Linked DNA regions of Homo sapiens: regions 2 and 3 are each linked to region 1. Evidence: promoter capture Hi-C in 16 types of primary human blood cells and fetal thymus (Javierre and others, 2016). All regions are on one chromosome and are shown on one strand. Each heading gives the region's core, a stretch centred on a gene start or on the middle of the fragment in contact. The rest is flanking DNA. Distances are from core to core; before and after follow the strand shown.

What was found. The method cuts DNA at HindIII sites, captures the fragments that hold promoters and counts their contacts. A CHiCAGO score of 5 or more calls a contact.
Region 2: a fragment that was not itself captured here is called in contact with the fragment with the promoter of FPR1 in region 1 in 1 of 17 cell types (monocytes); the score reaches 7.1 in monocytes.
Region 3: a contact is called between a fragment that was not itself captured here and the fragment with the promoter of FPR1 in region 1, in 2 of 17 cell types (neutrophils and monocytes). The highest score is 10.7, in neutrophils.

The regions. Positions count from the first base shown.
Region 1 is chr19:51,749,368-51,753,950 of GRCh38, reverse strand. FPR1 (formyl peptide receptor 1) reads left to right here and starts at 2,073. Exons shown (of 2, transcript NM_002029.4): 1 at 2,073-2,137. The HindIII fragment of the contact is 1,877 bases long and covers 1,003-2,879 here.
Region 2 is chr19:51,528,904-51,533,486 of GRCh38, reverse strand. SIGLEC6 (sialic acid binding Ig like lectin 6) reads left to right here and starts at 1,817. Exons shown (of 8, transcript NM_001245.7): 1 at 1,817-1,905; 2 at 1,968-2,327; 3 at 2,528-2,806; 4 at 3,003-3,050; 5 at 3,506-3,763. The coding sequence starts at 1,839. The HindIII fragment of the contact is 5,335 bases long and covers 1-4,583 here.
Region 3 is chr19:51,613,192-51,616,575 of GRCh38, reverse strand. All of the region lies in intron 8 of SIGLEC5 (sialic acid binding Ig like lectin 5), which reads left to right. LOC124904753 (a long non-coding RNA gene) reads right to left here. Exons shown (of 3, transcript XR_007067313.1): 2 at 2,527-2,747; 3 at 860-1,152. Among named protein-coding and RNA genes, the nearest start is that of SIGLEC5, 16 kb to the left of the region's middle. RefSeq lists a silencer at 760-909. The HindIII fragment of the contact is 7,305 bases long and covers 1-3,384 here.

The sequences.
Region 1 (4,583 bases), core at 824-3,323:
TTCCCTTTATTTTAATCCCCTTACAAAGTGTTGGCTTCCATGTGACTCCTAGGCACGTCTTCATTTGTTACCCTTCATACCTTGGGAATCTTCTAAAATGCATCTGTTGTTATGATCCCAAGAAAATGTTTATAAAATACAAACACAAATGTTTATAAAGTACAAATGAACATATCACCCTTCTGATTAAAGATCTTCAGTGATTCTCCATCTCATCCCCATCCTCCTGGTGTGGGATGCTGGAGTGTAGCAGTCCCCAACATTTTTGGCACCAGGGACCAGTTTCATAAAAAACAATTTCTCCATGGGGTGGCGGGGTAGATGGTTTCAGGATGATTTAAGCACATTGCATTTATTGTAGACTTTATTTCTATTATTATTATTACATTGTAATACACAATGAAATAATTATACAACTCACAATGATGTAGAATCCGTGGGAGCCCTGAGCTTGCTTTCCCGCAACTAGACAGTCCCATCTGGGAGTGATGGGAGACAGTGACAGATCATCAGGCATTAGATTCTCATAAGGAGCACACAACCCAGATCCCTGGCATGCACAGTTCACAGTAGGGTTCACACTGTTATGAGAATCTAATGCCGCCACTAATCTGACAGGAGGCAGAGCTCAGGCAGTAATGCCAGCAATGGGGAGTGGCTATAAATACAGATGAAGCTTCTCTTGCTCACCTGCCAGTCACCTGCTGTGCAGCCCACTTCCTAACAGGCCACAGACCGGTATCGGTCTGTGTATTGGTCTATGGCCTGGAGGTTGGGGACCCCTGCTGTAATGTGAAGTCAGGAGCTGTGGTAGCTTTCTTGGAGCCATGAAGTGGCAATCCCCAGGAAAAAAAGTCACCATATTAGGGATAAAAAAGAGAAAAGATTAAAATGAATGTAGTTCTTGATGATATTTTCCAGATATAACCTAACCTAGTATTACCCTCTTGCAAAATTCTTGTAAAGTAAACCATAAATTTCGTCTTGGTTCTAAGCTAAGCTTGTCCAGCCCATGGCCTAAGATGGCTTTGAATGCAGCCCAACACAAATTCATAAACTTTCTTAAAACATTATCAGATTTTTGGGGGATTTTTTTTTTTTTTTTTTTTTTTAGCTCATCAGGTATCGTTAGTGTTAGTGTATTTTATGTGTGGCCCAAGACAATTCTTCTTCTTCCAGTGTGGCCCAGGGAAGGCAAAAGATTGGACACCCCTTGTTGAAGCCATTGTTAGGTGTAATTGTAAATTATAAATTACTTAGAATTAAAAACAGCCCGGCTCATGCCTGTAATCCCAGCATTTGGGGAGGCTGAGGCAGGAGGATCACTAAACCCAGGGGTCTGAGACATGCCTGGGCAACGTAGCAGGATACTGTCTCTAAAAGAAAAGAAAAAACAGTCTTAATGCAACAATGCCTTGGTAATAATGCTTTTAGAATCAGTGTCGTTATCTCTGATTCTGTAACTGTCTTACCATATTTCTCCATATCACTCTGATACCCTTGGAAGGATGCTTAACATTTCAGAAAAACGGTTATTTCTTTGGGCTAGAAGACTACAAATGAGCTTCCACAAGATCAGAGGATTATGGGGTTAATCTTGGTGGTGTGCATGGGTGTGGACGCGCTGTCCTGCCAACTGTCTCAACTTCCCCCACTCCCTTACCTCTCTCTGTGTTTCTGGTCTCCATCCCTCATGACTTCTTCTCTTCCTTTCATTGCCTCCCTCTGATTCTTCTCACCACAGTGCTTGCTGCTTTCTTTACCTTGACCCTTGGAGGGAGCAGGGGCCCGGACACTTGGATTTCTTGGCCCTTGTTGTTGAGAGCACTGAACCTCTGCATCCCACAGAGACTGAGGCTGAGAAATACAGTCAGGTACATGAGTTTCTAAACAGGCCCAGCCCACTGTCCTAATGCCATTAAAGCAGACAGTATATTGGTGTATTCTTGGGGCCATCAAAAATCAGAAGAAGCTCAGACTTCCTATTTCCTGCTACCCAGCTGGTTTTAGTTCCTTTACCCCTCCTCCTGTTCCTTGGTGTATGTTTTGCTGCAATCATTAGAGCCTGAGTCACTCTCCCCAGGAGACCCAGACCTAGAACTACCCAGAGCAAGACCACAGCTGGTGAACAGTCCAGGTAAGAAACATATTCTGGGGGACTGGGTAGCTTGACATAGACACACTTAATACACTGGTGAACACAATAGACTCTTTGTTTGAAGAAGGATGTGGAGTTGAAGAATAATTTTTTTAAAGAGGTTCTAAACAGGCCGGGCACGGTGACTCATGCTTGTAATCCCAGCACTTTGGGAGGCCAAGGCAGGTGGATAACTTGAGGTCAGGAGTTCGAGACCAGCCTGGCCAACATGTTGAAACCTCACTTCTATTAAAAATACAAAAATTAGCCAGGCGTGGTGGTGGGCGTCTGTAATTCAAGCTACTTGGGAGGCTGAGGCAGGAGAATTGCTTGAATCTGGGAGGTGGAGGTTGCAGTGAGCTCAGATTGCACCACTGTACTCCAGCCTAGGTGACAGAGTGAGACTCCATCTCAAATAAATAAGTAAATAAATAAATAAACAAATAGGCTCTAGACTTTATTGGGGTCCTGATGGGAATGATGGAATATAGAGACACTATGAGGCTGCAGGAGAGAGAAGGGATAAGTGAAGGAGGGAAGTTCTTGAGTAAATGGGGGAATGAGTTTTATGGGACCAGTAGAGGGTAATTCTTGGATGGAAACACTTGTTTTCTGGTTACAGAGATGAGGGCAGAGAACAGTGATGCAGGAGCCAGCAGGAGGAGAATCTGGTGGAGCAAGAGGCAAGGGCATCAGCTTGAGGGCTTGAGTCGGGATGGGAAAGGATGTTTGGTTTGAAGCTTTCAGGAGAAAGCAAAAGAGCCCTAACGACTTTATGATGGGTCATGGGGAAATGAGTGTAATACAGAAGCAGTCACCTTTCGGATCAGTGATGAGTCTCCACGTGAAGACACTGGTTCTGCATGGTGCATAGGACCCAGTAGCGGAATACAGCCCTGCCCTCTCATGAATCTGCAGACATTGGCTGTCATTTCTCATCAAGCTCCTAGTTTCCTCTTCCGTCACACAGGGATGATGATGTATAATCAATGCTGAGTTTGTTGAGATCAGAGGCAAGAAAGTTGAGGATGTGGTACAATGATTATCAAGCATAAAGTCCTTCATCGATGGCAGCCACCAAGGCCTGTGTTCATTGCAAATCACAGGATTTTTCCCTTGAACCATAATTGGACAAAATTGCACAGGTTTTCCTCTCTGGTATGTTCCAGCTCATTATTGCAGAATCCTCATCATTCATTGCAACAATCTTCTGAACTGGTTGCCTTAGAGATTCTTGAGGACAAAGAGTCCTCAGGGTATTTTGGTGGTTGGATGGGTGGTAGGGGAGGGAGACATCTCTGAGTTGTTTCTGAGATTGTAGAGTATCAAAGTTCATTAGAAATGTGAGACACATATGTAATTTCAAAGTGTCAAGTAGGCACTTTAAAAAGGTGAAGAGAAACATGCGAACTTAATTTTAATAAAATATCTAACCTAAACTTAAATAGCCAAATTATTATCATTTTAACATGTAGTCAATATAAAAACTATTAATGAGATGGTCACAATATTTTTTTCATACTAAGTCTTTGAAATCTGATGGGTATTTTACTCCTACAGCCTGTCTCCAGTTGGACTAGCCACAATTCAAGTGCTTGAAAACCACATGTGGTGAGTGACTAGTGCATTAGACAGCTCTTCTGTGCCAGTAGCGTGGCAGGGCAGAGGCAGAAAGAGACTTTTGCTGGAATTCGACAGCCTGGGCTGTTGGGTGACTTTAAGGAATTAACTGAAATGCTCTAAGTCGCACTTTCCTCGTCTGCAAAATGGGTACCATAAAGACAGTGACCCTCATAGTAACAATTTTGAGGAAGGCTGCTGCAAGCATTAGAAGAGAAGACCAGGCCGGGCGCAGTGGCTCACACCTGTAATCCTAGCACTTTGGGAGGCTGAGGCAGGTGGACTGCCTGAGCTCAAGAGTTTGAGACCAGCCTGGGCAACATGGTGAAACCCCATGTCTACTAAAATACAATTAAAAAGAAAAATTAGCCAGGCACGGCGGCGTGCACCTGAAATCCCAGCTACTCAGGAGGCTGAGACAGGAGAATTGCTTGAACCTGGGAGGCGGAGGTTGCAGTGAGCTCAGATCACGCCACTGCACTCCAGCCTGGGTGATAGAGAGAGACTCCATCTCAAAATAAATAAATAAATAAAATAAAATAAATTAAAAAAAAGAGAGAAGGCCAGCTCTCAGCAAGAACCTGACATGCACTTTGCATACCTGATCTAATGAAATGTCATATCCAATACATATTTGGACTATTATTTCTATCACGGTCTTCTACATCCCCAAGAGTGCTGAGCCCATCCAATGGATGGAGAAGCACCTCCCATCCATCTGGCCAAGGTAACCGCAGAGACGAGAGTGGAAACAGAGTCTGTTGTTCTGACTTCTTCTAGCACAGAATCCATTGGATATAATACTTGATTATACGTCGTTTAGTAT
Region 2 (4,583 bases), core at 1,074-3,573, 220 kb after region 1:
ACTCTTCTGTACTGTTGGTGGGAATTTAAACTAGTACAGCCACTTTTGAAAACACTATGGACATTTCTCAGGAACTAAAAATAGAATTACTATTCGATCACTCAAGCAATCCCACTACTGGGTATCTACCCGAAGGGAAAGAAAGAAATACATCAAAGAGATACCTGCATTCACATGATTTTTGCTGCACTATTCACAATATCAGAGATATGGAACCAACCTAAGTGTCAATTAACAGATGAATGGATAAAGAAAATATAGTATACATGCTATTTGGCCATAAAAAAGAATGAAATCGTGTCATTTGCAGCAACATGGATGGGACTAGAATTCATTATCTAAATTGAAATAAGTCAGACACAAAAAGACAAATGTTGCATGTTCTCACTTACATGTGGGAGCTAAAAAAATATTATCACATGGAGGTGGACAGTAGAAAGATAGACAACAGAGACTGGAAAGGGTCAGATGGGGGAGGACAGAAGATGAAGAGAAGTGAGTGAAGTGCTACAAACATACAGTTAAAAGGAATAAATTCAGCGTTAGAGAGCAGAATAGTGTGATTTTAGTTAACAAGAATGTATTGCACTCACGTGACGGACACTCTAAATATCCTGACATAATCATTACGCATTATATACATGCAAAAAAATTTTACATCTACTCCTTAAGTTTGTAGAAATAAAAAAATTTACAAATATATGGTGGCAAATTCTAATACCTCATAGGTATTAGAGATTTGCCAGATGCATACTGCACAGAGGAAAATAGAAAACCATGTGAGCTAGACCTAAAAATTTTAATTTTGTCAGGATATTCTGCTCACGTTGTCCAGAAATATGTCTTTTGTGCCACATTTAACTGTGAGAAGCAGATTTTTCACAGGAAAGAAATTGCTAATCTCTATGATGAGGACCTAAAAAAAAATCTCTCCAGTCCACACTGCACTGAGTGGCAACATTAATTCAAAAGAAGTTTCTTCTGCACTGCAGTTCATAAAATATGTGTCCTTTTTGATTTACATGAAGATGTTGCATGGTTCTTATTTTGGAGATGTCATTGAAATTTTGTAAATCAGCGTACTAGCTGTCAAGGAAAAACCTCCATACTCATGTTTTAAAAAATATCTGGCATTCTACTGTGTCACTTGGCAAACTCACCAGTGTCCACAGCTCTAAAGCTAGATAGTGAGGGTGTGTGCTGAGGATGGGAAGCTATGGATGGGGATCATCTCAAGGGTAGGGACCAGGTCCCTGGCATCTCTTCTCCAGCCCGACCTACATACAGATGCTCACTATGTCTTTGGTGAATGAATGAATGAATGAATGAATGAGTGAATGAATGAGTGGCTATCACCCACACTGCACCTGGGACCCTTCTTCCTTTCACTGTCCCAGACACTCCCACAGACCCTACAGAATCCTATATCCTGCAGGACTGACTTTCTCATGGCGTGGGATGAGGCTGTGACTCTCTGGGGCCAGGAGTGACCAGCTCCCAGGTGTAAACAGTGGTGCACAGAAAAGCACCTCAGGTGGGCAGGGCCTTGGACACAGGTTTCGCATTCCTCAGATGCCCCGGGAGGCCCTGGTCCGGGCTCTGTTGCTCACAGGAAGCCCCGAGGTGGGAGGCGGGACACAGTCTCTTCTCCTCTGCTCTTCTTTGGGCAGGTCTCTGGGTCTCAAAGTTTCCGTCTGCTCTGTGCAGAGGGAGTGGAGCTCCGAGGGCTTGTGGCTTCGCAGTTCCTCTTCTGTGAACAGCCGAGATCACGCGCTCCTCCCCAGCCACCCGTTCCTCCCCGCAGTCCTTCCCCTCCACTCCCTTCCCCTTCTCTGCTCATGCAGGGAGCCCAGGAAGCCTCCGCCTCAGAGATGCTACCGCTGCTGCTGCCCCTGCTGTGGGCAGGTGAGTGGGCCAGGGGAGAGGTGCCGTGGGGCTGGGCCGAGCTGACCCTCATGTCTCCATAGGGGCCCTGGCTCAGGAGCGGAGATTCCAGCTGGAGGGGCCAGAGTCACTGACGGTGCAGGAGGGTCTGTGCGTCCTCGTACCCTGCAGATTGCCCACTACCCTTCCAGCCTCGTACTATGGTTATGGCTACTGGTTCCTGGAAGGGGCTGATGTTCCAGTGGCCACAAACGACCCAGACGAAGAAGTGCAGGAGGAGACCCGGGGCCGATTCCACCTCCTCTGGGATCCCAGAAGGAAGAACTGCTCCCTGAGCATCAGAGATGCCCGGAGGAGGGACAATGCTGCATACTTCTTTCGGTTGAAGTCCAAATGGATGAAATACGGTTATACATCTTCCAAGCTCTCTGTGCGTGTGATGGGTAAGGAACCAGCTCCAGGACTAGCCACAGGGGAAGGTCATGGGGGCCGTAGGGCAGGGCTGGGACGGGAGCCCCGTCTTGGGAGGCGGGTACAATTAAGCATGTTGGGCTCAGAGAAGGAGCTGGACCAGAGACTGGGCTTCCCCCTGGGTGAAACCTCAGACCTCCATCCTGATCCTGCGTCCCCATCTCCTCACCAGCCCTGACCCACAGGCCCAACATCTCCATCCCAGGGACCCTGGAGTCTGGCCATCCCAGCAATCTGACCTGCTCTGTGCCCTGGGTCTGTGAGCAGGGGACGCCCCCCATCTTCTCCTGGATGTCAGCTGCCCCCACCTCCCTGGGCCCCAGGACCACCCAGTCCTCGGTGCTCACAATCACCCCACGGCCCCAGGACCACAGCACCAACCTCACCTGTCAGGTGACGTTCCCTGGAGCCGGTGTGACCATGGAGAGAACCATCCAGCTCAATGTCTCCTGTGAGTGCTGGGCCAGGACGCCCGGGTCCCTGAGGGTGTGGGGGGACAGGGCAGGGCTGAGCCAGAGCTTAAAGTTGGGGACCTGGTTGCCAAAGAGGAGAGCCCCTTTCCCTGTTTTCATGGCTCCTGAGGGGAAGGCCCCATGCCTACCATCCCTCCTCAGGGATGTTGAGGCGGCCACCTCTTTCCACCCCAGATGCTCCACAGAAAGTGGCCATCAGCATCTTCCAAGGAAACAGCGCAGGTAGGAACCAGCCAGTCCTGTTCTCTCCAGGGCCAGATGGAAGCAGAGTGGGGACTAACGGGGATCAATATGAGAAGCCAGGACTAAGGCCTCCATAGACTTCAAAGACCTGGACTGAATCTTTGCTCACCCCCAGCCTTTGTCGCCTCTTCGGCAGGAGCTGCCACACCCCTCGCACTCCCTCTTCTCTCTTGCTTGTTTTCCTACTGCCTCAGGCGTCTCCATGGTCCAGGAATGGCACTTGTCTGCCACGACGCTGTCCGCAGCCCTTGCTCCACTCTCTGCAGGACAGCCTGGGCAGCTCCAGGGAAATGGTCTGGGCTTTTCTGAAGACCTGAGGCCCCCACTTTACTAGTCTCCTCCTCAGAGCTAGTGTGGACCCCACAGGAGGAGAGGGACACCAGTGCTTTGCCCCTATACCCCATCTCTAACTCTCTACACCTCTCTCCCCAAAGCCTTCAAAATCCTGCAAAACACCTCGTCCCTCCCTGTCCTGGAGGGCCAGGCTCTGCGGCTGCTCTGTGATGCTGACGGCAACCCCCCTGCACACCTGAGCTGGTTCCAGGGCTTCCCCGCCCTGAACGCCACCCCCATCTCCAATACCGGGGTCCTGGAGCTGCCTCAAGTAGGGTCTGCAGAAGAAGGAGATTTCACCTGCCGTGCTCAGCATCCTCTGGGCTCCCTGCAAATCTCTCTGAGTCTCTTTGTGCATTGTGAGTGTGGGGGGAGGTGCGCGAGAGTGTGGGCAGCTGGGCGAGAGCTCCATAGTATTCAGAGAAGAGGCCCCTGCTAAGTCCTGTCCTCCCTCCCCAGACCCCTCACAACTGCTGGGACCCTCCTACCTCTGGGAGGCTTAGAGTCCACACTGCAGTGGCTCCTCCCTGCACTGGCAGCTTGGGGAGGAGATTCTGGAGGGATGGGAACAGCAGCCATGGCTCCTTCACAGTCACCCCCAGCCAGCCGGACCCTTGGTCAACAGCTCCCTGAGCCCCTGCCAGGGATTCAGCTCAAGTCTCAGGCTCAGCTTTGAGGCCCAGAACATCCCAGAGCAGCTCTGTCCCAGCTGCTGCCAGGTCAGGAGTCTGCTAAGAGGTGACAATTGGGGGAAGAGAAGCCTGGGTCCTTGTATGAGTTTGCTAGGGCTGCCATAACAAAGTAATTCAAAGTGCACGACTTAAACAATAGGGATTTATTGTCTCACGGTTCTCAAGGTCAGAAGTCCAAGATCATGTATGGTGTTAGAGTTGGTTCCTTTTGAGGCTGTGAGAGAATCTCTTCCATGCTCCTTCCCTGGCTTCTGGTGGTTTCCTGGGAGTCTTTGGCGTTCCTAGGCTTAAAGAAGCATTGCCTCGACCTCTGACTTAATCTTCACATGGTGGTGTCTGTGTCCACATGTGCGTCTGTGTCCACATTTTCCCTTTTTTTTTTTTTTTTTGAGAGAGGGTCTCACTCTGTTGCCAGGCTGGAATGCAATGGTGCGATCTTGGCTCACTGCAACATGGTAATCTGACATATGCAACCTCCACCTCCCGG
Region 3 (3,384 bases), core at 874-3,373, 140 kb after region 1:
CTTCATCCTTCCCTACTTCCTTTTAGGGGATACTTCTGACGGCCCTTCTAGCTCACTAATTTGCCCTCAATTATAGTCATTCTATTCTCCATCCCATCCATTGGGCTCTTCCTATGATATTTTTCAGATATTTCCACATGGCCCTTTTTGCATCAAGTACACAATTACATAATTCCTTATTATGTTTCACATTCATTTTGCATGCACACTTTGTTATTGACAAAGTTTCTTATGCTTGTTTTCATGCTGCTAATATTGCCACATCTTTTTAGTGCATGTAATATGCTCAGTTTAGCTTCTTGACCAAAGCGTCCTAGTACTTGTGCTTCTAGTGGTCTATCAGGTTCTGTTGGTTTGCTTTTCTTCAAAGGTGCCCAGCCTTCTGAGCTGTGAGCTCACATTCCCCTGGGGTTATTGGCTACTCTGGCAGTGTTTCTTGAATGAGGGAAGGGCAGATGCTGGCCTGTGTCAGGCTTACTGAGCCAAAGAAATGACAGGGACGCCGGGCACGGTGGCTCACGCCTATAATCCCAGCACTTTGGGAGGCCGAGGTGGGCAGATCACCTGAGGTCGGGAGTTTGAGGCCAGCCCAACCAACATGGAGAAACTCCGTCTCTACTAAAAATACAAAATTAGCCAGGTGTGGTGGCACATGCCTGTAATCCCAGCTACTCGGGAGGCTGAGGCAGGGGAATCTCTTGAACCTGGGAGGTGGAGGTTGCAGTGAGCCGAGATCATGCCATTGCACTCCAGCCTGGGCAACAACAGTGAAGCATCGTCTCAAAAAAAGAGAAATGACTGGGACAAGCCCCAGGGTGGATCCCCTCAAGAACCCAAACCACACCCAACCAGTCCCACTTCCTATCACCCCAGTAAGGCAGCTTAAGTCATCCCTCCATCTTCAGACCCTCGTGGAGAAGCAACATTGGTCAAGGACTCTCGTTGCATTGTGATCCACCAGCCCTGGGAGTTTGGAGTGGAGAAAATGGCAAGGAGAATGTCAAAGACCAGTGAGCTTCCACCTCCGTTCTCCTTCTCCTCACCCCAGTGGGCCTCTGGTGCTTACCCAACACATGCCTGTTGGACACTGGCACATCATAATCCTGTCCATACTCTGAATTCTGCAGTGAGGGGCAGACAATGTTTGTCCCACTGGAAGGGTAGAGGAGAGAAAGGAGCAGAATTCAAGTATGTTTGGGCTAACCCATCCTCTCAACAAGCCAGCTGTCCCCCCGCCCAGTTCTCCCACCCCTTTTCTTCAAATGAGCCTTAACTTTCCCCTAGGGATATCAGTGTGATTGATTGATCATAAATTGATTTGTAAAGTTTTGTTCACCCAGGAGCTCCATCTTTAGTTCCATCATTGGTAGGTCTTGGAGAACAGAGCCGGTGTATGAATTCACTCTTTTGACAAGAACTATGGTAGAGAGAGCTTTGTTTTCTCCTTTATTTTACCTTTAACCATTCTGCACACTTTCATGCCATAGGCAGAATGGTAAAGCGAGGCACAGCATGGTCCCTGGAGTTTGACGTCCTGCATTCAGGTTCTAGATTCACCCACTTGCAAGCTGTGTGACCTTGGATAAGCTAATGAACCTCTCTGTTTTTTTGTTTTCTCCTATAGAAATTGGGTTATTAATATGCTAGTATCTGTCTCGGATTGTTACAAGGAGTGCTTAGTAAAGTGGCAAGCTCACAGGGAGCTCACTTATAACTGTTACCCAGTATTACTTTTCCTTCTGTCTAACAAGGAACTGCATGACGGGGAGGTATTTGGGTGGTTTCAGTCTGCTTTATGTCCTCATTTATACGAACGGCATCTAGCCCAAAGAAAGCACTCAGCAAAGAGCTATTGAGTGAAAGGGTGAACATACTGCATTGTCCTATTTACTAATCTGAGCTGTGCCTTTTCTTTCAGTTGTCAATTTCACCCTTTTTATTTCATATACCGCACACCTATTGATAGACATATGTCTTTATTTCTTCCTTTGCCTGCATAATGCTGGTGTGCATAGCCACTTTTTCATTTTATTTCATCTTTCTTGTGCCTAATATAAGCAGCTCTCTCCAGAAAGTCTATTTTTTTCTGACACAATGAAGCCATTTTTCCCTAACTGCGGAGTCCTTTTAAAAAAACTGTATGGCCAGGTGTGGTGGCTCACACCTGTAATCCCACCACTCTGGAAGGCTAAGCTGGGCCAGTCGCTTAGCCCAGGAGTTTGAGACCAACCTGGGTAACGTGGCGAAACCCTGTCTTTACAAAAATTAGCTGGGCATGGTGGCTTGTGCCTGTGGTCTCAGCTACTCAGGAAGCTGAGGTGGGAGGATTGCTTGAGCCAGGGACGGGAGGTTGCAGTGAGACGAAATCACACCACTGCCCTCCAGCCTGGATGACAGAGTGAAACTCTGTCTCAAAAAGAAAACTTCTGAGCTACTGTTTGAAGACTCACGTTGCTTTCAACATATTTTCCATAGCGTGATGGGTAGGGATATGGGTGAAGGTGGGAGAGGAAAGAAATTGCTTACTTGTATCTGGTTACCATCTTTGCTGGGGACAGGATCTGCTCCATTTTGTTTCTCTTTCATGGAAACTGGGTCCAGGATCAGAATTGCCATCTCTTTTCTGGTTTGCACATAAGACACCTTGTAACCTATGCCGAAGGTATACATTTGCTTCATCAATAATCCGCTCCTCCTGCCTAGGTCAGGGTCTATGTCTGATTTCTCACACTGTACGTGCCCAGAACCTGAAACAGGGGAGACAGGGCTGAGTTCGAATCCTGGCCTCGCCATGTATTAGATGAATAACCCTGGGCAAGCTACTTAACCTCTCTCCACCTCAGTTTCCCTGTGTGTAAGGTGGGGATAATTAGAATATCTTTTATACTGTTGTGGGTTTTTTTTTGGTGATGATTCAATGTGATTAGTAAGTCCTCAATATGGTCTGATCAATCATAGTATTACAAAATTTTGAAAGAATGAGCGAATAGTTGAGTTCACAGGAAATGTATATGGACAGGTGGGGCCGGGATTTGAACCCAGCCCTGTCTGCCCTGTGCCGGTTCCTGGGCACGTACAGTGTGAGAAATCAGACATAGACCCTGACCTAGGCAGCCTATGGCCTGTCCTTAGGAGGAGTGGATTATAAAAGGATGAATTGATAAATGTCACATCAGCCCAACTTCCCTGTGGGAACCATTTGTTGTATTTTTCTCTTATTTGGTGTTGAGGTCTCTCTTTGGGGAGTGGTCATAAAATCTAGCCCGGCCTTGAATGGGAACCCCAGAGATCTGGCCATCATGTTCACAGTGTGACTTTCACAGAATACTCCTTTATCCTGGCACACCACCTGCTGCCTGAGTGCCCAGCCTGTGACCCCCTCTC